7 separate regions of the Homo sapiens genome follow, and regions 2, 3, 4, 5, 6 and 7 are each linked to region 1. Evidence: promoter capture Hi-C in 16 types of primary human blood cells and fetal thymus (Javierre and others, 2016). All regions are on one chromosome and are shown on one strand. Each heading gives the region's core, a stretch centred on a gene start or on the middle of the fragment in contact. The rest is flanking DNA. Distances are from core to core; before and after follow the strand shown. Region 1 holds the start of USP37 (ubiquitin specific peptidase 37). Region 2 overlaps RUFY4 (RUN and FYVE domain containing 4). Region 3 has its middle 13 kb from the start of CXCR2. Region 4 has its middle 10 kb from the start of CXCR1. Region 5 has its middle 22 kb from the start of CXCR1. Region 6 holds the start of TRY-ATA1-1 (tRNA-Tyr (anticodon ATA) 1-1). Region 7 overlaps WNT6 (Wnt family member 6).

Region 1 (3,639 bases), core at 428-2,927:
CAATAGGCTGAAAATTACTATTTCCATTTTACAGATGATAATACAGGAAGCCAAGGCAATCAAGTCCAGGTTTTTTAAGGACTGTGGCTTAAACTAGAAAAGTGACAGTGAAAATGTACAGAAAAAGATGCAAGACACGTATTGGAAGTAGGATAGAACTTGGAGAGAGTAGAAGTCAAGAATGCCTCCCAAGTGTGTAGCCTGTGTCATGTGCCACTTAATAAACTGGGACACTGGAGAAGAAAGAATTTCGATATGGAGAGAAAGATCAAGGCTTTGGATTTGGCTGTGTTGCATCTGAAACTCCTAAGAAAAAAATCAAGTTGAGATGTCAAGCAGACAGCTGGCTATCTAGATGTGGAGCTGAAAACAAAGGGAATAGGCTGGAAATAACAATTTTTAAGTCATCAATATATAGATCAAATTTAAAGCTTAGGGAGGAATATAAGAGTAAAAGAAGAGGACCTAGGACTGAACCCAAATACTCATTTTACTTCATCAAACATCTTTAAGACAAGTGAGTACTTTTATATCACTGGGTTTTTCAGTCCTCCTTCCATTTTACCTTTCAGCAGAATGCAACACTACTGATGACTTTTTTCATGGCTTGCAAGACGCATCCTCCTCTATTGGTTATTAAACAGCAGGAATTCGTCAATGCTCCATCCTAGGTGCCTTTATTTTACAGCACTATACTCTTTTTCGGCAATTTCATCCACATCCATGGCTTCAATTACTATCAATATGGCAGATGACAAACACATACACACACCGCGCACATTTACGTACGCAGCCCAGAACTCTCCTAAGATCTCCAAACCCACTATATCCAACTGCCTACTTGACATTCCCTCTCAGGTATCTCTTCCAGTTAGACACTTGTCAGGAATTGCCACCTCAATAAAGGAATTTATACAGAGCTGAAATTTTGAGAGGAATACCCCAAAACCACTTTAGGACAACTCTTCAGGACACAGGATTTTATCATCAATCATCATTTCCTTTCATGGATCATGACTTAAAATAGTTACATCTAACAACCTGATCTGGCGGCTAGAAATGGGCGCAAGGAAATGCACAACAAAAATACAATTCATGTTTTGCAGTGAGGACTGGTCAAGAGGAAGGTGAAGATGGTCAAGAGAGTGAATGAGTATCATGTCCAAGGCCTGGTGGATGTGCCGTAACGAAAGTCACCTGAAGAGACAGCAGGCCCTGTTAGAAGGTAAGAGGCGAACGACAACAGCCCCAGAGAAAAGGGGCCAGGTTTGAGTTTCGGAGGGAGCGAGTGGCAGTGGAGACCAAGTCAAAGGAGAGGTGGAAGCCGGGGCAGTGCACCCAAAGGTAGTACCTGTGAGGCTGGGGGTGCATCGAGGGGTTGTGGGCGGGCTGAGTAGCAGCAGGGCGAACTCCAGAGGAGTGAACGCCGAGTGGGCGGATCGCACAGAAGGAGGAGGAGGTAGGGAAAACGGCTCAATTGAGAAGCTACCCCGGCCCGCCTTACCTGCGCCGAGGGTCCGGAGCCCCCGGACAGACCCGCGGAAAGCACGGAGCCCGCGAGGAGTGGGAGGAGCCGAGGGTAATGGAAGTAGGGATACCGAACCCAAAGGAGGGAGGCCGCTAGCTACCCCTAGTCAGGGAGAGCGGCTGATGGCGGGAACTGTGACCACACGCAAACACGCACGCACGCACGCACACTCGACGCGACCAGACAGGCGCGTGCGCGTCAGTCGAAAACTCCGCCCCTCACACGCCCTCGCCCCGCCCCGCCAGTACCTAGAGCGGCCTAGCCCGGGCAGCCCCGCCCCTGCCGTGACTGTAGTAGGCACGCGCACTTTCCACCTCACCCGATTTCGACGCCCCCCCACCATTTCCCTCCTACGCAACCCAGTCGGGCATGCGCAATAGTTGTCTTGCCGGGACTGTCCATCTTTTCCCGCCGTTCACTGGCTTTTGGAGGAGGGTCAGAGTTCACGCCGCTCTCTGGAAATAACTGCTCAAAGCCAGAAGTTGCGGGGACTAGTGGTCGCGGACGTCCTTCCGGTCCTAAATCTTAAGGGGCAAAGGACATACTCTGGGACTGTTAACTAGGCCCTGGAGGCGGGAAGAGGATGTGTGGGTGGGGTCAGGGGTGAGAGGTCAGAGGGCCGCGAAGTGGGCGGAGCGAGCCGGAGTCGGATGGCGGCTACGGCGGCTCATTGTTTTCCGCTGCAGGGGTGCTGAAGGGGGGACGCGGGTCGGACGCGTCCGGCTGTGGAAGAGAGCGGCGGCCGCTCACAACATGCACAGCCTGGCGACGGCTGCGGTGAGTGGCTGGGCCCCCAGGCTTGGAACCAGAATCCTTTCTCAGACCCACGTTTCGGCCTTCTCTCCTAATTCCCGGTGTCGGGTCCCTAGTCTGATTTTTTTCTGCCCTCAATCTCCAAGGCCCCGGTTCCCCTCCTCGGCACGCTTTGGTTGTGGTGGAGCCGGCCCCTATTTCCTTGCCGGACGCCTCTCGCGGCCTTCAGCGCGACCCATCGCGTTCTTTGCGGGCGCCGGGGCCTGGTCCCACGCCCGTAGCAGGCCATTCATTGATTTATTGCGCTGACCAACAGTTTCAGGGCGCCAGTTGTGTTCTGGGCGCCGGCGTCGATGAGGGGAATTCCATGGTCAATCTGACGCGGCCCCTGCTCTTAGAACTCACCACGTCGCAGCGGGAAGGAAATGGCTTCTAGTTCAAACCACTTGCTTTATTTATGGAAAACCTGAGGCCCGGAAAAGTGCATAATTTTTGCATCTGACTTAGGTTCTCTGCATTTAAAACTTTTCCTCGACACATCTCGTTTTACCCGCGTGATCTTTTAACAAAAAAGAAAGATAGTGTAATTCAGCTATCCGAAGTAATCCTACTTCTCTTGGCATTTAAATAAAATCTAGACTCCTTGCCATAGCCTGCACGGCCCTGTATGATGTGGTACTTAACCCACGTTTATAATCTCGTTTTATGTCTCTTGCTCCTAAAGCTTCAGCTACTCTGGCCACCTAACCCTCTGCAACGCGCTTATTTTTCTCCAAGATGCACTTTGTGGTCTCTATGCCTGGAGTGAATGTTCTTCTTATCCCTCCTCCTTTACATACACAGCATGAGTGTAATTGGTACCTCTTCCTTGAACTCTCCTTCCTCTCCTTAAACTGTTTATCCAAATCCATCTTTCTTCAGGTCTCTGCCTAAATCGGTCTCAGAGTGGCCTTCCCTGACTATCCTCTTCAAATTAGTTCCGCAGCCTCTAACTTTAGTAGAGTACCCTTTACAGCCCTGATCCCCGTGTAATTATTGTATTCGTTTATTTGTTGTCTGTCTCCTTGAGGGCAGGGACAGGGATCATGTGAGCCCTGTTGACGTGGTTTCCCCGGTGCCAGGACAGTTCCTAGTACAAGATTAAAGACTCAGATACTTTGCTGCATGAAAGAATATTGAAGGGAAGGTGACCACTGAAAGAACATTGCCATGATGGGGAAAGGAGATCATTTGATTTGAGCATACCTGCCTGAAGACCAATTCTGCTTTTTCTGTTTAACCAAAGGGAAATGATTTAAGGAAAGTAATGTACTGAAATTGTATTATCAGGCAAAATGACGTAATTACTAAATAAAGCA
Region 2 (3,639 bases), core at 705-3,204, 490 kb before region 1:
GCGCCAGGAGCAGCTGCTGAGGGAGCAGGAGGGGGAGCTGCAGGCACTTCGGGAGCAGCTCAGCAGGTAACCTTGGCAACCCACAGCACAGGGCACCTGGAAGTGCTCCCTAGGTCCTGCTGTCAATCACGGTCAAGCCAGTGAGGTCTTGTGAGAACCTCCCATGCACCAGGCCCTGGACTGGGCACACCTTTGGGATCTGAGGCCTGCAGGGCATTGCTCCTGATCCCAGGGCTCCACCCTCCCTCCTCTGTGCATCCCTTTCTCGTAGGTCTCCCAGAGCAGGAGCAGCCCCAGGAAAGGCCCCGCCTCCTGGCCTGCTTCCTTCCCACCCTCACCCCTGCCTCCCTCTGCTGCCTCCCCTGGGCAGCTCCTCTCTCTTTTTCACCCTCTCTGCCTCCCTACTCCACTGGACTTCTTTCCCCCATCTCTTTCTGTCTCCCTTTTTTACTCAGTTTCTTTGTGTCTCATTTGCTTCTTCCTGTTATGCCACCTCTCACCCTCTCATAATCACAGCTATCATTTACTAAGCATTTACTACGTCCCAGGCACTGCTGTCGGTGCTTCTGCGTAACACCCTTATGAGATGAGTTCTATAGAACCCCCATTTTATAGAGGAGGAAGCTGAGGCTCAAAGATGCTGCACAATTCACCCACCATTGGCTAGTTAGCGGGGGAGCTGAGATTCAAGGCCTGCAGCTGACTCCAGAACCAGTGGGCTCAGACGCCCCATTCAGGCAGCATGTCGAGTGCCTGCACTTCAGTCTCTCCGTTTCTCCTGCTCAGTGTCTCTCACCATCCAGTGTCTTCATCTTCCGTCATCACATTGACCTCAGGGGCCCACAGCACGCTGTCTGTCTCTACCATCCCCCCTCAGTCCTCAGTCTCTCAGGTCTCAGTTTCTCTCTCTCTCTCTCTCTTTCTTTTTGTAGAGACGAGGTCTCACTACATGGTGCAGACTGGTCTCAAATTCCTAGGCTCAAGCTTCAGCCTTCCAAAGTGCTAGGGTTGCAGGCATGAGCCACCACACCCAGCCCATAATTTATTTTTTAAAGTCTCTTCTCACTGCAGAGATCTTCCGTGGCCTGACTCAGCCTCTCTGTGTCTCTCTCCTGTGGTCTCCGGGTACGTCAGTCTGCCCACCTGCCCCTGTCTCTCTCTCCCACATGGCTAACACCTGCCCCAGGTCCAACAGACACCAGTCGGACCCCAGCAGAGCCTGAGTAGCTGTGATTCAGCCTGAATCACTAGGAAGCCTTCTGGCTGTCTGCTTCGCAGGTGAGAGAGGCCCAGGAGCCCAGAAACCAACCCAAAAGGACCCCCAGGCTCCTCCCACTCCACACTCAGCTGAGCACACAGTGTGGTCGCAAAGGTTTCCACGATTCAGGGCAAAATGAACATGGGGGTTCTGGCCACACAAGAGTCTTCAAGGGTTCAAGACAGTCTGGGAGGAGCAGCTGGGAGGTTATAGAGAGATGGCCTGGCCCTGGCTGCTCCTTTTACTGGGGACCCTGTCTCACAGACCACAGTGCTCCGGCCACCTGTCACTCATCATTCAGTCATTCCACAAACACCCTGTGCACCCACTCTGAGCCAGGCCTGTCCTAGGTATGGGAAATCCTCTCACAGACAAAACAGGCCAAACGCCTGCCCTCATGGAGCTTGCATTCTAGTGGAGGAGGCAATAAAAGTGATTAGCAAGTAAAGTACCTAGGATATCAGATTGGAATAAGTTCTAAGAAGAAGACATAAAGCAGACAAGAGGAATGGGACATGTTGGTGTGGTATTTTACATTTTAATAAGGTAATATGGCCAGGGAAGACCTCCCTGTAAATGTGACATTGACCTAAAGACCTGAAGGAAGTGAAGATCAAGCCCTTTGACTATTCGGTAGAATGTTCCAGGCTGCGAGAACAGCAAAAACAAAGGCCCTGATGGAGGACGGGCAGGGCAGGTTCTAGGAACATCCAAGGAGGCCTTCCGGGCCCCAGTAGAGTGAGGGAGGGAGAGGATGTGGGAAAAGGTCAGGTGAGCCAAGGAGGCAGGTTAGGGAGAGCCTGCGAGGTCATCGGAAGTGCCTCGACTTTGACTCAGAGGAAGATGGGAGCCACTGAGAGCTCAGAGTAGGAGAGAGACTTGACTTTTTTTAATGTCAAAAAGATGTTTACATGCTTTTTCAAATGCTTAACAATTAAATGGTTTTTAGTATATTTAAGAGTTATACATCCACCACCTCAATCAATTTCAGAACATTTCCATCTCCCCAAAGAGAAACCCTGTACCCATTAGCAGCCACTCCTCATTCCTTTCCCAGCTCTAGGTAACACCAGTCCACTTTCTCTATAGATCAGCCTGTTAGAGGCTGGCATGTTTTTTGTTGTTGTTGGTTTTTTTGTTTTGTTTTGTTTTTGTTTTTGAGACAGAGTTTCGCTCTTGCTGCCCAGGCTGGAGTGCAGTGGCGACATCTCGGCTCACCGCAACCTCCGCCTCCTGGGTTCAAGTGATTCTCCTGCCTCAGCCTCCCGAGTAGCTGGGATTACAGACACCTGCCACCACGCCCAGCTAATTTTTTGTATTTTTAGTAGAGATGGGGTTTCATCATGTTGGCCAGGCTGGTCTCAAACTCCTGACCTCAGGTGATCCACCCACCTTAGCCTCCCAAAGTGTAGAGATTACAGGCATGAGCCACGGTGCCCGGCTTGATGTGCGTTTTAAAGGCCCCTTGGAGCTGGCCTGTTAGCAGGCAAGCTGAACACAGGGAGTCCAGCGAGGACCCTGCCATGCAGGGGAGAGTTGGGGTGCTCAGACTGGGCTGGCAGCATGGAGCAAGGAGAAGCTGCCGGGCTTTGGATGAAGTGTGAAGTAGAACTTCCTGAGGAATTGGATATGCTGTATGAAAGAAAGACAGAAGTTGAGAATGACTCTAAGCTTTTTGACCTGATCAGCTGGAAAGCTAGAGTCACCATTAACTGAAGTGTGTGGGCTGTGGCAGGGCAGATTTGTAGGGAAAGTTCAGAGCTTGGTTTTGAACACGTTACGTTTGAGATACCTGTTAGACATGTCAGACGGGAGCCGCTGGGCAAGCAGTTAAGTGTGGAACTCAGGAGGGAAGTGTGCGCTGGGAGATCGATCCTGGAGTCCTCAGAGTAAGGATGGTGAGTAACAGCTGACCCTGAGGCTCAGAAGAGGATGTGCTACCCTGATGCCTGGGAGCCAGGGAGCTAAGGACAAAGCTCACTCCCGGGAAAGGAGCCCGTGGGCATCAAGCTGGTGATGAGTTCCTCAACACAGAGAATAGAAGTGCCGAGGGACCCATTCATTCCATGGACATTTAGTATGCTTCTACAATGGCCATGAGCAGGTGTGGTGAACAAACTTGGCCCAGCCTGCTCTAGAAGACCTGGGACAGATAAACAGATAGCAATCCAATGGCCATTGGATGGATGCTAGGGAAAAAAACAAAGGCAGGGAAGGGCGCGGAGAAAGACAGGATAGTCATTCAGACTGGGGTCCAGAAAGTCCTCTCTGAGGTGACATTTGAGCAGAAGCCCCAACCACATGAAAGACTGGACCATGCAAATATCTAGTGAGAAGTGCTGTGGCCAGGGGAATGTCCGGAAGACATGCGTTTGTTGACA
Region 3 (3,639 bases), core at 377-2,876, 430 kb before region 1:
GAGTGGTGGGGCAAGGGTGAGTGGAGGTCTTGGGTGAGAGTCTTTACAAGAAGTAAATCTCTTTGTTATTTGCTGTGTCATAGAGAAAAGGATGGAATAGAGATGGAGCCCAGCCTTGCCATCCCCTCACCCCCAACCCAAGCTTCCTGCTGTAGACCACACATCATGGAAAGAAATGCATTCTGGGATGCTCTAGGGCGTCTCGTGTCGTTGGGTGAGGCAGTAGTCAGGAGTGTCAGGGGTGAGACTTAGAGTTAGAAGGTGCAGAGGGTTGAGTAAGTTTACCAAATCCCCCTGATCAGGTAGCAGGAAGGCAGAGAGCTCTCCCAGCTCAACCAGCAGCACCCACTGTGAGTGCCCTATCCTCTTCCCTCTCTTCCACCCAAACACACACCCATCATTCCAGGTTTGACAGGACAGCCCAAATGCAGAATGGGGAAGTGGTTTATAATCTGTCATTAGGAGAAAACAAAAGATTCGAATCATGCCTCCAACAGCATGGAGTGCTGACTGTTCGGAGAGTGGGGGGATACAGCAGAGACCACGACAGACAGTGCCTTGCCCTGGGGGAGCTCACATTCCTAGGGCTTGTCTCTGCAGGGTCTTTGTCAAGAGGGGCTCTGGGTCTGAGCAGCCTGAGAAGGAAGGAAGGAGGCAAGAGGAACTGAACGTCCGCAGTTCCCAAACAACCCCCTTCAGGTTAACAACTAAATCTAGGGGAAAACAGGGAGGCAGGAGCACACCTCTGAGTGGGAGGGCTTGAGGGGCAGAGAACTTCCACTCAAAAGCCACAGAAGTGCCTTTCCTATTGCATTCAGCAACAACAATCCCTTCTTTCCTGCTCATTCTATGCTGGGTACTTGCTAAACTCGGGACCAAGCACGACTCAACTGCTCTGGCTGAGTCTTCGGAACAGCTTCTGATTCAGTAGCAGGGAAATGCAGGGGAACGTGTATTTACCAAGGACCTGACTTGCCAGAGGAACCAATGGTGCTCTGCCTGGACAAGGCTGATGGACCAGGTGGCTCCCTGAGATGACTCCCAGAGGGAAGAGGCCAAATTACACCTCACTCTGGTTTCAGGACTCTGCTCTTTCCTCTCACAAGGACTGGAGGAAACATGGTTCTCCAAGGATAATAAAAGGATACCATCAGCCTAGGAAAATGAGGCAGAGATTAAATTATGCTTACGTGAACTCTGTTATTCATCTCTATCTCCTCTCTCTCTCTCTCTCTCTCTCTCTCTCTCTCTGTCTCTCTCTCTCTCTTTCAGACTCTCTCTCATAAGAACAGTCTTGGCACAAATAATTTACCAAACACGCCATCCCTAGGACAGGCGAGTCTGGGGATTGCCTTTGAGTTGTTGACTTCTTTCTTCCCTCTGATGTTTCTGATCCTGAGTCCCAAGGTCTCAGGGTCCAGCACCTTTCTGCCTGATCTGCCTTCTCGGTCTGTCAAAGAGGCCTGAAGTCCCCATTTCCATACATAAACGAGGAAACTGAGGCTTTACCAAAGCAACCTGGCCAAAATCTCATGGCTAGACAGTAGTGGAGCTGAAATAAGATTCCTAGTCAGTTCGTTTTTTACCAAATATTTCGCTTTTCGGTTCGAGCACCTGACAGACAAGATGGAAAATTACATGTAGACATGACCTTTTCAGACCATTTCACTCACACGGGTAAGACCAGTCTACATTTTCTGCACCTGCACTCATCTGTGCCTGGAGCTGGGGTTGCTGGAGTCTCAGTCAGCGAGGCCCAGAGGAGGCTCAGGGGCACAGGTGTGGGAGCAGCCTCAGGCTGGGTTCTCCTATTCTTGGCTGGCAGGCAGCACAGTTAAAGACACAATCGTGGCCAGGCACAGTTGGTCACACCTGTAATCCCAGCACTTTGGGAGGCCAAGGAGAGCAGATCACCTGAGGTCAGGAGTTTGAGACCAACCTGGCCAACATGGTGAAACTCAGTCTCTAATTAAAAACACAAAAATTAGTTAGGTGTGGTGGTGGGCACCTGTAATCCCAGCTACATGGAAGGCTGAGGCAGGAGAATCACTTGAACCTGGGAGGCGGAGGTTGCAGTGAGCCGAGATCATGCCATTGCACTCCAGCATGGGCAACAAGAGTGAAACTCCGTCTCATAAATAAATAAATAAAGACGCAATCAGAGCCCAAAACAAAATTCAGAGACAGGCACAACTAACCCCTCTACAGAGGACACATATCTTATCAGGCAGGGGCCAATTAAAGAAGCAAAACCACTGGGAGGAGGAATTTGTGACAGGCATTTGACCCTAGGCAACTGTGGGAGCTGGCTAAACCATTAGTGTCAGGCTGTTGGCTTTGTTTCTTGGCTGGGATCTTAAGCTGGTAGGATGGACAGCCTGGAAGGAAAGATGGATGTAAAGTGGGAATAGTGAGGAGGAGCTGGAACCTACCAGGACAGGCTGATACCTGCGTTGGTCCAAGTTCAGTATGTGAATGGCCTGTGGAGAAGCTGGCACCTGCACCAAGCAGGTAAACCCACACCTGAGGGGCTGCAGGCCAGCTCAGGCCCCATGCCTACAGGAGCCGGCAGATAAGTGACATCATATGGTGGTGTCTGGTGCCTTCCACTGACCTTCCTGAGCTGAAACAGAATGTAGATGCTGCTCCACTTCCACCTTCCAGATCTCACATACAAGGTCCCTTCTGGCCCCTCACTGACCTGGAAATGTGAAAGGAAGAGAATTTGGGGAAATACAGTTCTATCCTATCTATGCTGACTCAATACAAATCCTCTGCACAAACTTATGTGCGAACTCTAAAGAAAAAGAACGGTTCCCACAAAGGTTCAGGTGATATTTATTAAAGGGTCGGGAAAGGGAGGAACACATGGGGGCTTTAGGGGGCACTGATAATGTCCTCTCTCTTATCCTATGTGATAGATGCTTAAGAGCCATTATATTATTATTTTTTAAGCTATAAATGTTAGTTTTCTGTAATCTGTGCTATGTATGCTATTCACAAGAAAAGTGTTTTTAATCATTAAAATGAAGGGAAAAAATACAGAAACAGTGATCAGAACAAAAGGACAACCTGGGTCATTTCAAGGAACCACCACAGGGAGTGGACTGCAAGCTTTTGTGTTGTATAGTTTGGGGATCAGAATTCACCAGACTAGAAGATATTATCATCCACTGCCAGTAGGAGAGGAATTAGGAACGATCCTTCAAGAAGGCAATTTTGTGATATATACTTTAATGCATACAATCTCCAATCCAGGAATTATACACTGCTACAAATCTATCCTATAGAAATACACATCTAGGCGGACAAACGTGTACAGGATATTCATCACAGCATTTTTTATAAAAGTCAAAGCTCAGAAACAACCTAAATATCCATCAGTGGGGAATTGGTTAGAAACACTTTGAAGGTGCAGCCACACTGTGGAATACTGTGAATGCAGTGGTTTGAACATGATGTTTAAAACATGCAAAGTACGGCCAGGTGTGGGCTCACGCCTGTAATCCCAGCACTTTGGGAAGCTGAGGTGGGTGGATCACCTGAGGTCAGGAGTTTGAGACCAGCCTGGCCAACATGGTGAAACCCCGTCTCTGCTAAAAATACAAAAATCAGCCAGGCGTGGTGGTGCACACCTGT
Region 4 (3,639 bases), core at 443-2,942, 410 kb before region 1:
ACAGAGAGAGGCCTTCTAGGAACTCCTCAGGTCAGACTTGGTCAGCAGCTGCCTGGAAAACACATACTAAGAACTGGCCTTCACAGGGCACCTAATTGTGGATAATCACGATCTGGGCAAAGATGGATGTTTCATGTCAAGTTCACTAGAGCTATAGTCCTGTTTGTCCATCGCAGTACACTCTTAGATTTCGAGCATCTCCCATTCTTAGAACTGGAAGGAAGCTTGCCTATTCAAACTTCATTTTATGGGAGCGGAAACCAAGGTTCTGAAAATTTAAGTGAAGATTCAAGTAACACAGCAACTAAGTCTGTCTTTTTGCTCTGTTTTATTTAATTAGAAACATTTTTCCAAATCTTCAGGTTCAGCTTGTGGTACACTAGGACCCCCAGATAGATCTCTTTGTTCCAGTGACCCTACAGGAAATTTCATAAACTCCTCACATACCCTCCATTCACACATTTCCTTTGTCCCCTTAGATTTTATTTCTTTAGTACATTACTTTGTTTGTTTGTTTGTTTGTTTGTTTGTTTGTTTGTTTGAAATAGAGTCTTGCTCTGTCACCCAGGCTGAAGTGCAGTGTCACAATCTTGGTTCACTGCAACCTCTGCCTCCTGGGTTCAAGCAATTCTCCTGTCTCAGCCTCCCAAGTAGCTGGGATTACAGGTGCCCACCGCCACACCCAGGTAATTTTTTTGTATTTTTAGTAGAGACCAGGTTTCACCATGTTGGCCAGGCTGGTCTCGAACTCCTGATCTCAGATGATCCGCCCACCTCAGCTCCCAAAGTGCTGAGATTCCAGGCATGAGCCACTGAGCCTGGCCCATTACTTTGTTTTAAGACCTAGCACGGAGTTGGATGCAAACAAGCATTTGTTACATAATCAGACAACTAGCGGATTCTCACTTAGGAACATGTGGGAATGTGCACAAAGACAGTACATGCTGAGTCTTGCCAGGGTCCCACTCAGAGGAGTGCTCAAGTATGCTGGCCAAGTGGGGAACCCTGCACTGCACAGCCCTGAGACCTGTACCTGCCTAGTCTCCCCACACCCCCAATACCTTTAAAGCTGGAGCAAAGTCACCTCTTTCAGGAAGACAGCCATGTTGTTTACAGTATGGGAACCAAGGGAGAGGTACGGATGTGGCCTCTTAGGTTTCAGTTGGGCAACACAATTCCTTCCCATGTCGGAAGTGACTAGATTTCTTCAGCGGTCCCTCCCCATTTACCTTCTAGATCTTACTTCTTCCATCCCCCTGATGCAAGCCTGGCTAAAAAAAAGGGGGTGATAGTTCTGGAATAACGTTGGGTCATTCATCCCCAAAACAGACATACATATGCACCCATGCATAAGCAACATGCACGTACACACTGTGGGTTACCTAGAAATCCCGTCAATGTATCCTCCTGGGGTACATAACATTTTCTGGAAGAAGGTTTTAACATAAGAAAGGGAAATAAAAAACAAGAAAAGGAACTTTGTTTTTCGTTTGATGTGCTATCTGAATTTCTGGTCATGATAATGGGCTGGCTGAAGAGGCATAGCAGCAAATCAGCAACACAAACATGCCCTCCATAGGCATCCTAAATAACTTTTTTTTTAATTTTTAAAAAGGCTGGGCGTGGTGGCTTATGCCTGTAATCCCAACACTTTGGGAGGCCGAGGCGGGCGGATCACCTGAGGTCAGGAGTTTGAGACCAGCCTGGCCAACATGACAAAACCCCGTCTCTACTAAAAATACCAAAATTAGCTGGCATGGTGGTGGGTGCCTGTAATCCCAGCTACTTAGGAGGCTGAGGCAGGAGAATTGCTTGAACCCGGGAGGGAGAGGTTGCAGTAAGCTGAGATCACGCCACTGCACTCCAGCCTGAGAAATAGAGTGAGACTCTGTCTCAAAAATAAATGAATGAATTAATTAATTTTTAAAAATAAATATCTGAGGTCAATAGCAGGCAAGAGAGAGAGAAAAAATCTCCAAGGGCCAGAAATGAAGAGGGAGCTTAAAAATGTATGGACTTATCAGGGAGTAGGATTAAAGCCAGAGGAACCCAGAAAGATACTAGAATTGATCATGTACCTTAAGGATGGGAATGATAATACCAGTGACCCTAAAGGCCCCATGTATAGCAGAAACTACAACTTGATTGCCTATAAAATTGTCAGGACCAAGAAAGAGCTGCCATGCCCTTGAATGGGGATAGAAAAGCACTTTGCAGCCTGAGACACAACCCCCAAGTGAGCTGCCTTCCTAGGTCATGAGAGAAAAGGGGCCAATTGAGGAACATTCCAGAATCCCAAGCCCTAGTATCAAGTGATGAGGACCCAAATCTGTCATTTGCAATGGTGTGGAAACTCAGGGCCAAGAAATATCAATAACAAAAAATGCTCTGAGCTATGTAACCCAGTAAGGCCCTAGCAGGTACAGCCATAAAGCCACCCCTGAATAGACTTCTTCATAATCCAGGGCACATGCAAGACTCCCATGAAACAAAAAAATGCCTTCAAAAGATGAATTAACAATAAAATGTTACAAAGAGCTGACAATCATCACAATCAACAGTCAGTCAACAGCAAATGGGAGAATTCACACCTGAGGAGCTAAAGATAATAAAGCAATTTGGATCTGACTTTAAAATAAGTATATTTTTTGCCACGCACAGTGACTCACACCTATAATCCCAACACTTCGAGAGGCAGAGGTGGGAGAATCACTTGAGGCCAGGGGATCAAGACCAGCCTGGGAAACATAGTGAGACTCCATCTCTCCAAAAAATATTTTAAACATTAGCCAGAGATGGTGTTGCGTGCCTGTAGTCCGAGCTACCTGGGGGCTAAGGAAGGAGGATTTTTTTTTTGAGACAAGGTCTCACTCTGTTGCCCAGGCTGGAAGGCAGTGGTGCAATCTTGGCTCACTGCAACCTCTGCCTCCCAGGATCAAACAATCCTCCCACCTTAGCCCCCAGAGTAGGTGCATTCCACCATGCCCAGCTAATTTTGTGCATGTGTGTATTTTTTTGTGGAGATGGGGTTTCACCATGTTGCCCGGGCTGGCCTTGAACTCCTTGACTCAAATGATCCTCCCGCCCTGGATTCCCAAAGGGCAGGAATTATAGGCGTGAGCCACCGCACCCAGCCCCTAAATTTTTTTTTTTAAATAGGTCAAGCTTGGTGGCTCATGCCTGAAATTCCGGAAATTTGGGAGGCCAAGGAAGAAGGACTGCTTGAGCCTAGGAGTTCAAGACGAGCCTGGGCAACATAGTAAGATTCTGTCTCTACAAATTTTTTTTTAATTAGCCAAAGGTGGTGTTGCATGCCTGTAGCCCCAGCTACTCAGGAGGCTGAGGCAGGAGGATTTTTTAATTTTTTTTTTTTAAATAGGCAGGGTGCAGTGACTCAACCTGTAATCCTAGCACTTTGGAAGACAAGGAGAGGGGATCACTTGGGCCCAGGAGTTGGAGACCAGCCTGGGTGACATAGGGAGACCCCGACTCTATTTAAAAATTTAAAACTAGCCAGGCAGGCATGGTGGCACACACCTGTAGTCCCAGCTACTTAATAGGCTGAGGTAGGAGGATTCCTTGAGCCTGGGAGGTCAAGGCTGCAGTGAGCTGAGATTGGGCCACTGCATTCCAGCATAG
Region 5 (3,639 bases), core at 422-2,921, 380 kb before region 1:
CTGTCTTTGATGCAGGCTTGCTTATTTTCTCTTACACGTGGCCAGCCGTACCAAGCTCTACCCGATATGGCCCAACCTGCATAGTCAACATTCTGTCTGATGGACTTGGCTGCCAAAGCGGTATCCATGGTTGCAGTAAAAATAAACCTCACAAATGGTGACCAGGGGGCTGGAGGGTGGAGGGGTTCTAGATGGAAACTGGGCAGATGGGAGACAGGTGGGAAGAAGACTCCTTGTGAATAGCTTTTAATTTTTTTTTTTTTGAAACATGTGACATAGTTCCCATTACATATTTTCAATGTTTAAAAAATAATTTTAAAATGTTAAACAGTCATAATTCAACCATGGTGGCAGGAGGTCTGTGGTGCAGCTGAGAAACTGCTCTAAGCTCTGGCATGTGCAGTTGTATGTCTTCTGGCTGCTCTGTCTCAATTTCCACCCACAGAGCCAAGGAAGCCTCCAGCCAATTCCAGGGAGCATCTTTCTGGGCCCTGGGTTTAGAGACCTGTGATTCTCTTTATTCCCTCTGCTCCAGATTCTCCAAATCAGCTCACTTTGGGCTCTCTTGGCCCTGTGTCTTTCCTGTCACTGGTTTGTCAACTGCCTCCACTCAGTGCCTCCCCTTAGCCCTTCCTGTCCTTACGGTTTCTAAATGCAATTCTAATAGCTTCACAAATGTGCTCCTCCACTTTCCTAGGCACCAAGGAAACCTTGACCCACAGGCTTTAATTTTACCCTTGCAGTGAATTCTTATTGACTTTCACTGACCACTGGAACCCACCTACTTGCCCTGAGAACACTCCCATTATCTTTCAATTAAAATAAGACCCTTGATTTATACTTTAATATACATATATCCAGGCTGGGCACAGTGGCTCACCCCTGTAATTCCAGCACTTTAGGAGGTCGAGGCAGGAGGATCGTTTAAGCCCAGGCATTCAAGACCAGCCTGGGCAACACAGTGGAACCTCATACCTCTACAAAGCAATTTTCAAAATTAGCCAGGTGTGGTGGAACACACCTGTGGTCCCAGCTACTCAGGAGGCTGAGGTGGGAGGATTGCTCAAGCCCAGGAGGTCAAGGATGCAATGAGCCATGATCACACCACTGCACTCCAGCCTGGGCAACAGACCAAAACCTTGTCTCAAAAAATAATTTTATATACATATATATACACACATGTATCCAGACTCCTGCTGAAACTACCTCTCCCTGTTCCAATGCCACACATCTAGTTCAGCCTGCAGATGAGTTTCTTTGACTGCCTGGGATTGGTTTCCTTGTTTGTTTAAATTAGAATTGGTTTCTGACTTTTAAACCTTGAGGCTTTTTCACATTTAAAAACATCTGGATTTATACACTCTCCTTTAAAATTTTGAAGATCTGGGCTGGGCGCCATGGCTCATGCCTGTAATCCCAGCTCTTTGGGAGGCCAAGGCGGGTGGATCACCTGAGGTCAGGAGTTCAAGAAGAGCCTGGCCAACATGGTGAAACCCTGTCTCCACTAAAAATATGAAAATTTGCTGGACATGGTGGCATGCACCTGTAATCCCAGCTACTCAGGAGGCTGAGGCGGGAGAATCACTTGAACCCGGGAGGTAGAGGTTGCAGTGAGCCGAGATCATACCATTGCACTCCAGCCTGGGAGACAAAAGCAAAACTCCATCTTAAAAAAAAAAAAAAAAAAAAAAAAAATTGAAGATTTGACAACACTGAGCTCATGGCAAAACTCAGCTAAACCTAGAATGTAAAAGAAATCCTAGAAATAGAGCCACACTTACACCATCACTTGATTTTCAACAGAAGTTCCAAAGCAATCCAGTGAGGGAAAGGAAGGTTTTATCAACAATGTGGGCCAGACACAGTGGCTCACGCCTGTAATCCACGCACTTTGGGAGGCCAAGGCAGGTGGATCACTTGAGGCCAGGAGTTTGAGACCAGCCTGGGCAGCCTGGCGAAACCCCATCTCTACAAAAAATGCAAAAATTAGCCAGGCGTGCTGATATGCACCTATAGTCCCAACTACTCAAGAGGCTGAGGTGGGAGAATTGTTTGAGCCTCGTAGGCAGAGGTTGCAGTGAGCTGAGACCCAGCCTGGGTGAAAGTGAGATTCTATCTGAAAAGAAAAAAAAGAAAGAAAAAGAAAAGAAATCTCATTACACAATCAAACATCACATCACCAGAATGACTAAAAATACAAAAGCATGATAATATCGACTATTAGTGGGTTGTAGTATAGCTGGAATCCTCACATATAATTAGTGGGAATGTAAAATGGTGCAAACACTTTGGTAAAAGGTCTGGCAGTTTCTTCTACTTTCTGACCCAGCAATCCCACTCCTAGGAATATGCCCAAGAGAAATGAAAATAATATGTTCACAAAAATATCAATAGCTTTATTGATAATTGCCAAAAACTAGAAACAGTCCAGGTGTCCATCAATAGGAGAATGGCTAAACATACAGTGGAATAGTCATACAATGGAGTCATTCTCATCAATAAAAAGGACTGAATTACTGATATACTCCACAACATGATGTATCTTAAAAACATTACACTGAGTAAAAGAAGCCTTCCACTTCTATGAAGTTCTAGAACAGGTGAAACTAATCTGAAAATAATCAGAGCAGAAGTTACCTCTGGGAGGATGGAGGCAGAGACAAACCAGCCATGGGGGGACATGAGAGGATTTTTAGGAATGATGGTAATGTTTTCTATATTGATGGGCATTGGGATTACACAGGGGCACCTATTAGTTGAAACTTAGTGAATATACACTTAAGATTTGTGCACTTCATTGTCTACAAATTTTACATCAAAAGAAAACACTAAAGGCCAGGTGCAGTGGCTCACGCCTGTAATCCTAGCACTTTAGGAGGCCAAGGTAGGAGGATCACTTGAGGTCAGGAGTTTGAGACCAGCCTGGCCAACATGGTGAAGCCCCGTCTCTACTAAAAATACAAAAATTAGCAGGGCATGGTGGCGCATGCCTGTAATCCCAGCTACTTGGGAGGCTGAGGCAGGAGAATCACTTGAATTTGGGAGGCGGAGGTTGCAGTGAGCCAAGATCGCACCACTGCACTCCAGTGTGGGCAACAGAGACTCCGTCTCAAAAAAAAAAAAAAAACTATAAACAAATATTGATCTCTAATCAATGATGTACACACTGATGTATTTAGGGAGAAGTATACTGGTGTCCACAGTTACTTTGAAACACATCCAAAAGAATAGATTAATGGCTATAGGGATGGATAATGGATAAATATGAGATAAAGCAGGTAAAATGTTAATGGCAGAATCTAGGTAGTAGATGTACAAGTAGACAGTGAAATTCTGTCAACTTTTCTTTTCTCTTTTTTTTTTTTTTTTTTTTTTGAGATGGAGTTTCACTCTTGTTGCCCAGGCTGGAGTGCGATGGCGTGATCTCAGCTCGCTGCAACCTCTGCCTCCTGGGTTCAAGCAATTCTCCTGCCTCAGCCTCCCGAGTAGTTGGGATTACAGGCATGAGCCACCACACCTGGCTAATTTTTTGTATTTTTAATAGACAGCGTTTCTCCATGTTGGTCAGGCTGGTCTCAAACTCCTGACCTCGGGTGATCCACCCACCTCGGCCTCCCAAAGTATTGGGATTACAGGCGT
Region 6 (3,639 bases), core at 690-3,189, 320 kb before region 1:
CCCAGAGTATGTTGTAAACTTGTGGATTTCTCCTGATCTGATAGGTTAAAGGTGGTATCTGTGTCTGCTTATGATGACATAAAAAGATGTTCTGAGGTCAGAACATCTTTTCTTAATGTTATAGACCATTTGATTTTCTTATGAAGTGTCTCTTTATGTCCTTTACCCATTATTCTGTAGGGTCATTGAGCTTCTCAATTTCTTTACATACTAGGGAGAGTAGCCTTTCATCTGTGATTAAGAGTTGAAATATTTTCTCCAGTTTGTCATTGGACCGTGTTTTGTGGGGTTTTTTCCACCATGTGGAAGTTTGTTTTTACATAATCAAATTAATCAGTCTTGCCTTTTATGGCTTCTAGATTTTGAGTTATAGGTAGAAAGCCCTTCCCTACTCGAAGGTTATAAAGAAATTTACCTGTTATTTTCTGAGTATTTTTACAGTTACATATTTTATACATGATTTTTTCTTATTTGTTGAGAGCTCCTCTTGTTGTATGGTATGAAAGAATGATCTTTTTTTCCTAAATGGCTATCCAGTGGTCCCAGTGGCAATTATTTCCTTTTTTACACCCCTGATTTAAGATGCTACTTTTATCATATGCTAAATGCCTTGTATATATTTGGATTTATTCCGAACTTCCTATGATAAATAGTACTTTGGAAGAGAGAAATAATCTGATGCTCAAAAGACATCCTAGCCAGAAGGAGAGTAAAAAGGCAATATTGCTTGATTACGTATAACAAAGATGCCAATGAAGATGGAGGGCTGTTTGGGTGTGTTTGTTTGTTTAAGCTTTATTTAGGAGAGAGAACTGAGGAGAAGCAAAGACATCAGAGAATCTAAAGAATAGTCCCAGTCAGGCACAGTGGCTCACGCCTGTAATCCCAGCACTTTGCGGGGCCTAGGCAGGTGGATCACTAGAGGCCAGTTTGAGACCAGCCTGGCCAACATGGTGAAACCCTGTTTCTACTTTAAAGGCCAAAAATTAGCCGGGAATGATGGCACACGCCTGTAATCTCAGCTACTCGTGAGGCTGACACATGAAAATCACTTGAACCTAGGAGGTGGAGGTTGCAGTGAGCCAAGATCACGCCACTGCACTCCAGCCTGGGTGACAGAGTGAGACCCTGTCTCAAAAAAGAAAGAAAGAATAGGCCCAAGCCAGAAACGTATCGTTGACCGAGCCTTAAATATGTTATTTTCCATATACAAAACTAATGAGTGCTAATAAGTCACCACTGGTTTATAAATACCCCATCTCATTGTGAATACCACATGTACCTGTGAATTAGAGCCTTGGAGACACTTAACAGACACAAGAAAATGCCAACAGTTACGTATCTGTTCTGTTTAATTCCTTAATACCGAAAAGTAAAACCAGTAAAAGTTAAAAAGCTTCTTAACCCCTTTGTAGAATAAAAAATGTTTTCTAGAGAAGGGCGATTTTAGAAGCTTTGCTCTAGAAATTTCCATTTGGGATAATCTTGACTCCTTCCCTTCCTTTTTGGATATTTTTCCTTCGGGGAACAAAATCTGTTCAAAAGGGGACTAATCTAACCCAGTTGATGGTCATTTCTTTTCCTACTTAAAGCTTGGTAGTGTTAGCATGAGAGGCAGTTTGTGAAATAGGTGAGGTCCCAGGCTGGGCATTGGGGCTCCTCAGCCATCATCTTTCTTTTGCCACTAATTGTCGAGAGGGCTTGCTAATCAGTGTTTATTCTTCCTGCCTGCAACTGGAAACAGCCCTTGCCTATTCCTGTACAGTGTGATGATACTAAACCAGCTAGGGTAGAAGCACTTGCTTTCTCTCAGCAAGGCATGTGCTGCATAGCCTCTTTGAAAGACAGAAGAATAAATTACAAAGATAAATTAAGCAGGATCTTTGATTTGAACTCATAACCTGGTAGGGGAGCCAGATACATTAATGAATGGTAAAATATCATAGTAGAGGTTTGTAGAAAAGACATGGCAGCTCCAGCAAGAGAGCAGTACCTGCCTGGGTTTGTTGGAGATGGTATTAGGAGGCAGTATTTGAGCAGCAGTAGAAGGGCACGCAGGCCACATGGCTGTGTAACCATGCCTTCAGAACTCCTAAAACAAGAGACCTTGGAGAGTCCTTGGCAGCATCCTCCTGCTGTCTATCATCTTGGAAGGCCCACTTGATGAATTTGGATTATCCAGTTTTACTGGCATTGCTAGAAAATCTACTTCTGTTCTTGCAGATCTGGCTGAGAGAGAGAAGCCTTGTATTACTTGTCTATTTACATAGGAATGTATGGACTGTAGAAGCTTCAGGTTTGGAGATTGGAACATAGAAGGAAGGGCTTCCTTTATGAGCACCAAGACAACTCAGCTTCTTTCATTCCATTGTCTTCTGTCCGCAAGAAGAGCTTAAGTTTGCTCTAAAGATTTTATTGATGAATTCTAAATAGCAACAGGATCCTCAGTGAAAAAAGACTCATGCAAAGTCCCAGAGCCCAGAGAAAGTATGGTAGTTTATCACCTATGTTAGTGCAAAGGAAAAGGATTATCACTACTTTTCATCACATTTTGAAGATCTGACTTATTAAGTACTTTGCAGTCTCTCCCGTTTGAATCTGAAGTGTAGTGGTAGCAGCTAGCACTTGTCATATTTCAGGTTTGGTGTAGTTTATTTTTAACCTCCTGCTGGTCTGGAGGGCTACAAAGGTCACACCACATAGAACAAACCCTATAGCTTGAGTTGCCACTCATCTTACACCCACTTCTCTTCTGGTTGCTTTTGCTTTGTCTTGGCAGGAGTTCAAAGAAGGACGCAGAGCCAGCCACACAGCCCCACAGGTCCTCTTTAGCCACAGGGAACCTCCTCTGGAGCTGAAAGACACAGACGCCGCTGTGGGTGACAACATTGGCTACATTACCTTTGGTGAGCAGGGTGCACTTGCTGCTTTTGTGCCGCTTTAATGAGTTCACACAGCAGAATACCTAAATCTGCACAGAACCTTGGTTAACATTTTAAGGTAGGCAAACGCAGGCATACCAACTTGTTCCTGTTGCCATTGCAGTGACTAAAGGAGGGATGTCACAGGGTATTAATTACAGAGCAGGCCATATGCTATTTTTGTACAGTAATCCTTTCCTTTTTTTCCCCATTTTTCTTAAATCTTAAAAATAAGACTGAATTCTGATATCAAGAGTTAAGGTCCCTTCAATAGTTCAGCTGGTAGAGCAGAGGACTATAGCTACTTCCTCAGTAGGAGACGTCCTTAGGTTGCTGGTTCGATTCCAGCTTGAAGGAGACAAGTACAGTTTTGGCTGGGCACGGTGGTTCATGGCTGTAATCACAGCACTTTGGGAGGTTAAGGCAGGTGGATCACGAGGTCAGGAGATCAAGATCATCCTGGCCAATGTGGTGAAACTCTGTCTCTACTAAAATACAAAAAAAAATTAGCTGGGCATGGTGGCGCACGTCTGTAGTCCCAGGTACTCCAGAGGCTGAGGCAGGAGAATTGCTTGAACCCGGGAGGTGGAGGTTGTAATGAGCTGAGATCGTGCCACTGGACTCCAGCCTGGGCAACAGAACAAGACTCTTGTCTCCAAAAAAAAAAAAAAAGAGTTGAGGCTGGGTGCGGTGTCTCACGCCTGTAATCCTAGCACTG
Region 7 (3,639 bases), core at 519-3,018, 300 kb after region 1:
TTCTATGGGCGAGCTGCTGCAGTGCGGCTGCCAGGCGCCCCGCGGGCGGGCCCCTCCCCGGCCCTCCGGCCTGCCCGGCACCCCCGGACCCCCTGGCCCCGCGGGCTCCCCGGAAGGCAGCGCCGCCTGGGAGTGGGGAGGCTGCGGCGACGACGTGGACTTCGGGGACGAGAAGTCGAGGCTCTTTATGGACGCGCGGCACAAGCGGGGACGCGGAGACATCCGCGCGTTGGTGCAACTGCACAACAACGAGGCGGGCAGGCTGGTGCGTACGGGCAGGATGGAGTGAGTGTGTGCGGAAATGTGAGTGTGCGCGCAGGAGTGTGCTTGAGGAAGTGTTGGCAGGAGTGAGGGTGTGTAGGTGGAGGGGGGCGTTAATGTGTGGGGGAGTGCGCACGGGCGGAAAGATGGGCTGCAAGCATGGATGGACATGTGGGAGGAGAGGTGTCCAGCCTCCAAGAAGGAGTCACGTGGGGGTCTGAGAAGGCCAGATGCTGGACGGTACAGCGGGCAGAATGGGGGAAGGGACACTCAGGGAATAGGACTGAGGGTCTTTAGTGACCCCAGGCAGAGAGGGCACAGCTTCAAGACAGGACAGGTGAAGCAAAGCTTGCAGTGGGTAGGAGGTCTGGATGCCTAGGCAGGGGCAGGAGAATAAAACAAAGGTGGGGATGAAAGACAGGATAGAAGCTAATGCAAGGTCTGGGGTTTTGGTACAGGGAAGCCAGGGGGAGTGAGAGAGGCCTAGAAAGAGTTAGAACAGGTCTGAGGGGCAATGGAAAAGAGCGAAGGACAAGGAACCAATCCTAGTGGAGGTTGGAGGGAGTCAGGTGGAGGCCAGGACAGCTGTGACCAATTCTGGGCATTTGCCAACTGGCTGCCCAGCAACACCAGCCCAGGTCTCACCTGCCCAGAGCCATGGCAGCCTCTCCTCTCCCCTCTGTAACGAGGAGAGCCCCAGGAGCTCTCATTCAGGGGCAAGAAGGTTGTCTGGGTGTGATGGTTCCAGGAGGGGGCAGGGCAGACTCAGGAGGTGGGAGTGGGACACATGGTCAGGTTAGCCCCTGGACTCTGAGCTTCCAGAAATGATTTTCTTGGGTCTTCTGAACCATCAGCGCTTGGTGGGTTTGGGAATCTTAGACCCTGCTTCAGACAGTGACTAGGGGAGAGGCCGCCTGGGTTCCACTCTCAGTACTGCATTCCCAGCGGGCCCTCCTGCACCCCATGCCTCCGTTCTAGCGTTCTCCAGGGACATCGCCATACATACCGTGTCCTCTAGGGTTCGGGCCTGAGGCATCGGGCAGGGGGAGGAGGGGGCCTGAAGAGGAATGTCCGGACAGGCCCACATACCTGCCGAGAGGGTTGGGGAGGGGTGACGGAGACAGATGCCCAGGAGGCTGGCTCTGCGTCTGTGCTCAGCCCGGCCTGGGGGCCGTGAGGGGTAGGAATGAGGGGGCCAGGTAGGCAGGAGAGCTAGACTTCGACAGCTGCCACCTCTCCCCTCCTCCAAAGAGAATCTCACCCCTGCTGTCCATTCTGCTTTCTCCCCCACCCCCTGCCTTTGGACCCTGGAATCTCTGCGCTGCATATTGTCCCCGTCTCCCCTCTTCGTCATCATCATATTCCTCCATCCTCACCATTCCTCCTGCTCCTCCCCTCCGAGTTGTCCTTTCCTTGATTTCCTCCCCCTGAACTTGCGGTCTCCTTTTGTCTGCATTTTCCTCTCTTCCTTTCACCTCCCATTCCCAATCTTATTTTCTGTCCATCCGCTGGGCCCTTCCCTGCACCCCCTACCTGTCCACATGCGTCCGCCCCTCTGCCTCCCGCAGGCCGTGCGGAGCCACACGCGCACCGAGTGCAAATGCCACGGGCTGTCGGGATCATGCGCGCTGCGCACCTGCTGGCAGAAGCTGCCTCCATTTCGCGAGGTGGGCGCGCGGCTGCTGGAGCGCTTCCACGGCGCCTCACGCGTCATGGGCACCAACGACGGCAAGGCCCTGCTGCCCGCCGTCCGCACGCTCAAGCCGCCGGGCCGAGCGGACCTCCTCTACGCCGCCGATTCGCCCGACTTCTGCGCCCCCAACCGACGCACCGGCTCCCCCGGCACGCGCGGTCGCGCCTGCAATAGCAGCGCCCCGGACCTCAGCGGCTGCGACCTGCTGTGCTGCGGCCGCGGGCACCGCCAGGAGAGCGTGCAGCTCGAAGAGAACTGCCTGTGCCGCTTCCACTGGTGCTGCGTAGTACAGTGCCACCGCTGCCGTGTGCGCAAGGAGCTCAGCCTCTGCCTGTGACCCGCCGCCCGGCCGCTAGACTGACTTCGCGCAGCGGTGGCTCGCACCTGTGGGACCTCAGGGCACCGGCACCGGGCGCCTCTCGCCGCTCGAGCCCAGCCTCTCCCTGCCAAAGCCCAACTCCCAGGGCTCTGGAAATGGTGAGGCGAGGGGCTTGAGAGGAACGCCCACCCACGAAGGCCCAGGGCGCCAGACGGCCCCGAAAAGGCGCTCGGGGAGCGTTTAAAGGACACTGTACAGGCCCTCCCTCCCCTTGGCCTCTAGGAGGAAACAGTTTTTTAGACTGGAAAAAAGCCAGTCTAAAGGCCTCTGGATACTGGGCTCCCCAGAACTGCTGGCCACAGGATGGTGGGTGAGGTTAGTATCAATAAAGATATTTAAACCACCAGGGCTGGACCCACAGTTTTGGGGGAGACTGATCTTCAGGCTGCCAGGCTCCAGAAGAAGGTGGTTTTGCTAGAACTAGCACCTCAGGGGCTATCACCTGGGTCCCTATCTCCCGACCAGGTTGGCCTCTCCTGGAAACTCGCTATCTCCCCTTGGCATTCTTCTTGTTCACTCCTGTCACACATCTAGGTCCTGGATCTGCAAGCTGGAGAAGAACTAGCAATTCCTCTTTAAAGGGACAGGGGCATCAGAAGCTTCTGATGCATACCTCTTGACACCCAACAATATTTCCTTCCTTCTGGTTCCTCTTGGGAAGCTACTGGTGAAAGTGAGGAGACAGAGGGCAGTTCTGGATTCTCCAGAGCTGAAGCTTGAGCTCTCATCTTCCTCCAGAGAGAAAGAGGGATGGCATAGCCCAACTTCCAGGACCCAGAGCCTCCAACTTTCCTCCAGTCCAAATACTGCAATGGGGAATGACTCCCCCATCAAGGTATGGAGGACAAAAAATGAGCTTTGGGGTCAGACACTCTGGGTTTGCAGTTGGTGCTGCTGCTTAGAACTTTACAACAGAGGCCAAATTAGCCTCATTTTCTTTATACAAAGGGATTTCGCTCTGTTTCAGTTATCCATTGCTACATAACAAACAACCCCAAAGTAATCACTTCTCAGGATTTTTGAGGTCATGATTGGTCAGAACTCAGCTTGGTAGGTCTGCTCTATATAGCAGAACCATTGGCTTGGGTTCACATGGCTGCATTCTGCTGGAGTCTCCACTGTGCTGTGCTGGACAGTCCAAGAAGCCCCCACTCACATGTCTAGGGCACAGAGCTTCTCTTGTGCTCTCATTCTCTCCATGTGGCTAACCTGGGCTTCCTCGCTGCATGTTAGCCTTAGGATAGTCAGACTTCTTACATAAGACTGACTTTCTTTTTTTTTTTTTTTTTTTTTTTTTTTTTTTTTT

What was found. The method cuts DNA at HindIII sites, captures the fragments that hold promoters and counts their contacts. A CHiCAGO score of 5 or more calls a contact.
Region 2: a fragment that was not itself captured here is called in contact with the fragment with the promoter of USP37 in region 1 in 1 of 17 cell types (neutrophils); the score reaches 5.6 in neutrophils.
Region 3: a fragment that was not itself captured here is called in contact with the fragment with the promoter of USP37 in region 1 in 1 of 17 cell types (neutrophils); the score reaches 5.0 in neutrophils.
Region 4: a contact is called between a fragment that was not itself captured here and the fragment with the promoter of USP37 in region 1, in 1 of 17 cell types (neutrophils). The highest score is 7.7, in neutrophils.
Region 5: a fragment that was not itself captured here is called in contact with the fragment with the promoter of USP37 in region 1 in 12 of 17 cell types (non-activated CD4 T cells, total B cells, neutrophils and 9 more); the score reaches 11.4 in non-activated CD4 T cells.
Region 6: a contact is called between a fragment that was not itself captured here and the fragment with the promoter of USP37 in region 1, in 11 of 17 cell types (non-activated CD4 T cells, total B cells, naive CD4 T cells and 8 more). The highest score is 10.9, in non-activated CD4 T cells.
Region 7: a fragment that was not itself captured here is called in contact with the fragment with the promoter of USP37 in region 1 in 2 of 17 cell types (total B cells and activated CD4 T cells); the score reaches 6.5 in total B cells.

Annotation. Positions count from the first base shown.
Region 1 is chr2:218,566,674-218,570,312 of GRCh38, forward strand. USP37 (ubiquitin specific peptidase 37) reads right to left here and starts at 1,678. Exons shown (of 26, transcript NM_020935.3): 1 at 1,505-1,678. It overlaps CNOT9 (CCR4-NOT transcription complex subunit 9), which reads left to right and starts at 2,166. Exons shown (of 8, transcript NM_005444.3): 1 at 2,166-2,305. The coding sequence starts at 2,282. RefSeq lists enhancers at 1,521-2,148, 2,149-2,776, 2,571-2,760 and silencers at 1,641-1,710, 1,801-1,860. The HindIII fragment of the contact is 2,574 bases long and covers 430-3,003 here.
Region 2 is chr2:218,076,468-218,080,106 of GRCh38, forward strand. RUFY4 (RUN and FYVE domain containing 4) reads left to right here. Exons shown (of 13, transcript NM_198483.4): 10 at 1-66. Among named protein-coding and RNA genes, the nearest start is that of RUFY4, 9.0 kb to the left of the region's middle. RefSeq lists an enhancer at 1-62. The HindIII fragment of the contact is 1,945 bases long and covers 983-2,927 here.
Region 3 is chr2:218,137,276-218,140,914 of GRCh38, forward strand. No RefSeq gene overlaps it. Among named protein-coding and RNA genes, the nearest start is that of CXCR2, 13 kb to the left of the region's middle. The HindIII fragment of the contact is 2,972 bases long and covers 141-3,112 here.
Region 4 is chr2:218,155,111-218,158,749 of GRCh38, forward strand. No RefSeq gene overlaps it. Among named protein-coding and RNA genes, the nearest start is that of CXCR1, 10 kb to the right of the region's middle. The HindIII fragment of the contact is 2,941 bases long and covers 223-3,163 here.
Region 5 is chr2:218,187,418-218,191,056 of GRCh38, forward strand. No RefSeq gene overlaps it. Among named protein-coding and RNA genes, the nearest start is that of CXCR1, 22 kb to the left of the region's middle. The HindIII fragment of the contact is 6,006 bases long and covers 1-3,639 here.
Region 6 is chr2:218,242,641-218,246,279 of GRCh38, forward strand. ARPC2 (actin related protein 2/3 complex subunit 2) reads left to right here. Exons shown (of 11, transcript NM_152862.3): 8 at 2,780-2,906. TRY-ATA1-1 (tRNA-Tyr (anticodon ATA) 1-1) reads left to right here and starts at 3,186; the gene lies at 3,186-3,278. The HindIII fragment of the contact is 698 bases long and covers 1,591-2,288 here.
Region 7 is chr2:218,871,555-218,875,193 of GRCh38, forward strand. It overlaps WNT6 (Wnt family member 6), which reads left to right. Exons shown (of 4, transcript NM_006522.4): 3 at 1-265; 4 at 1,830-2,679. The coding sequence ends at 2,291. It also overlaps a transcript of WNT10A not described here. Among named protein-coding and RNA genes, the nearest start is that of WNT10A, 7.5 kb to the right of the region's middle. RefSeq lists a silencer at 1-22 and an enhancer at 101-1,047. The HindIII fragment of the contact is 2,323 bases long and covers 608-2,930 here.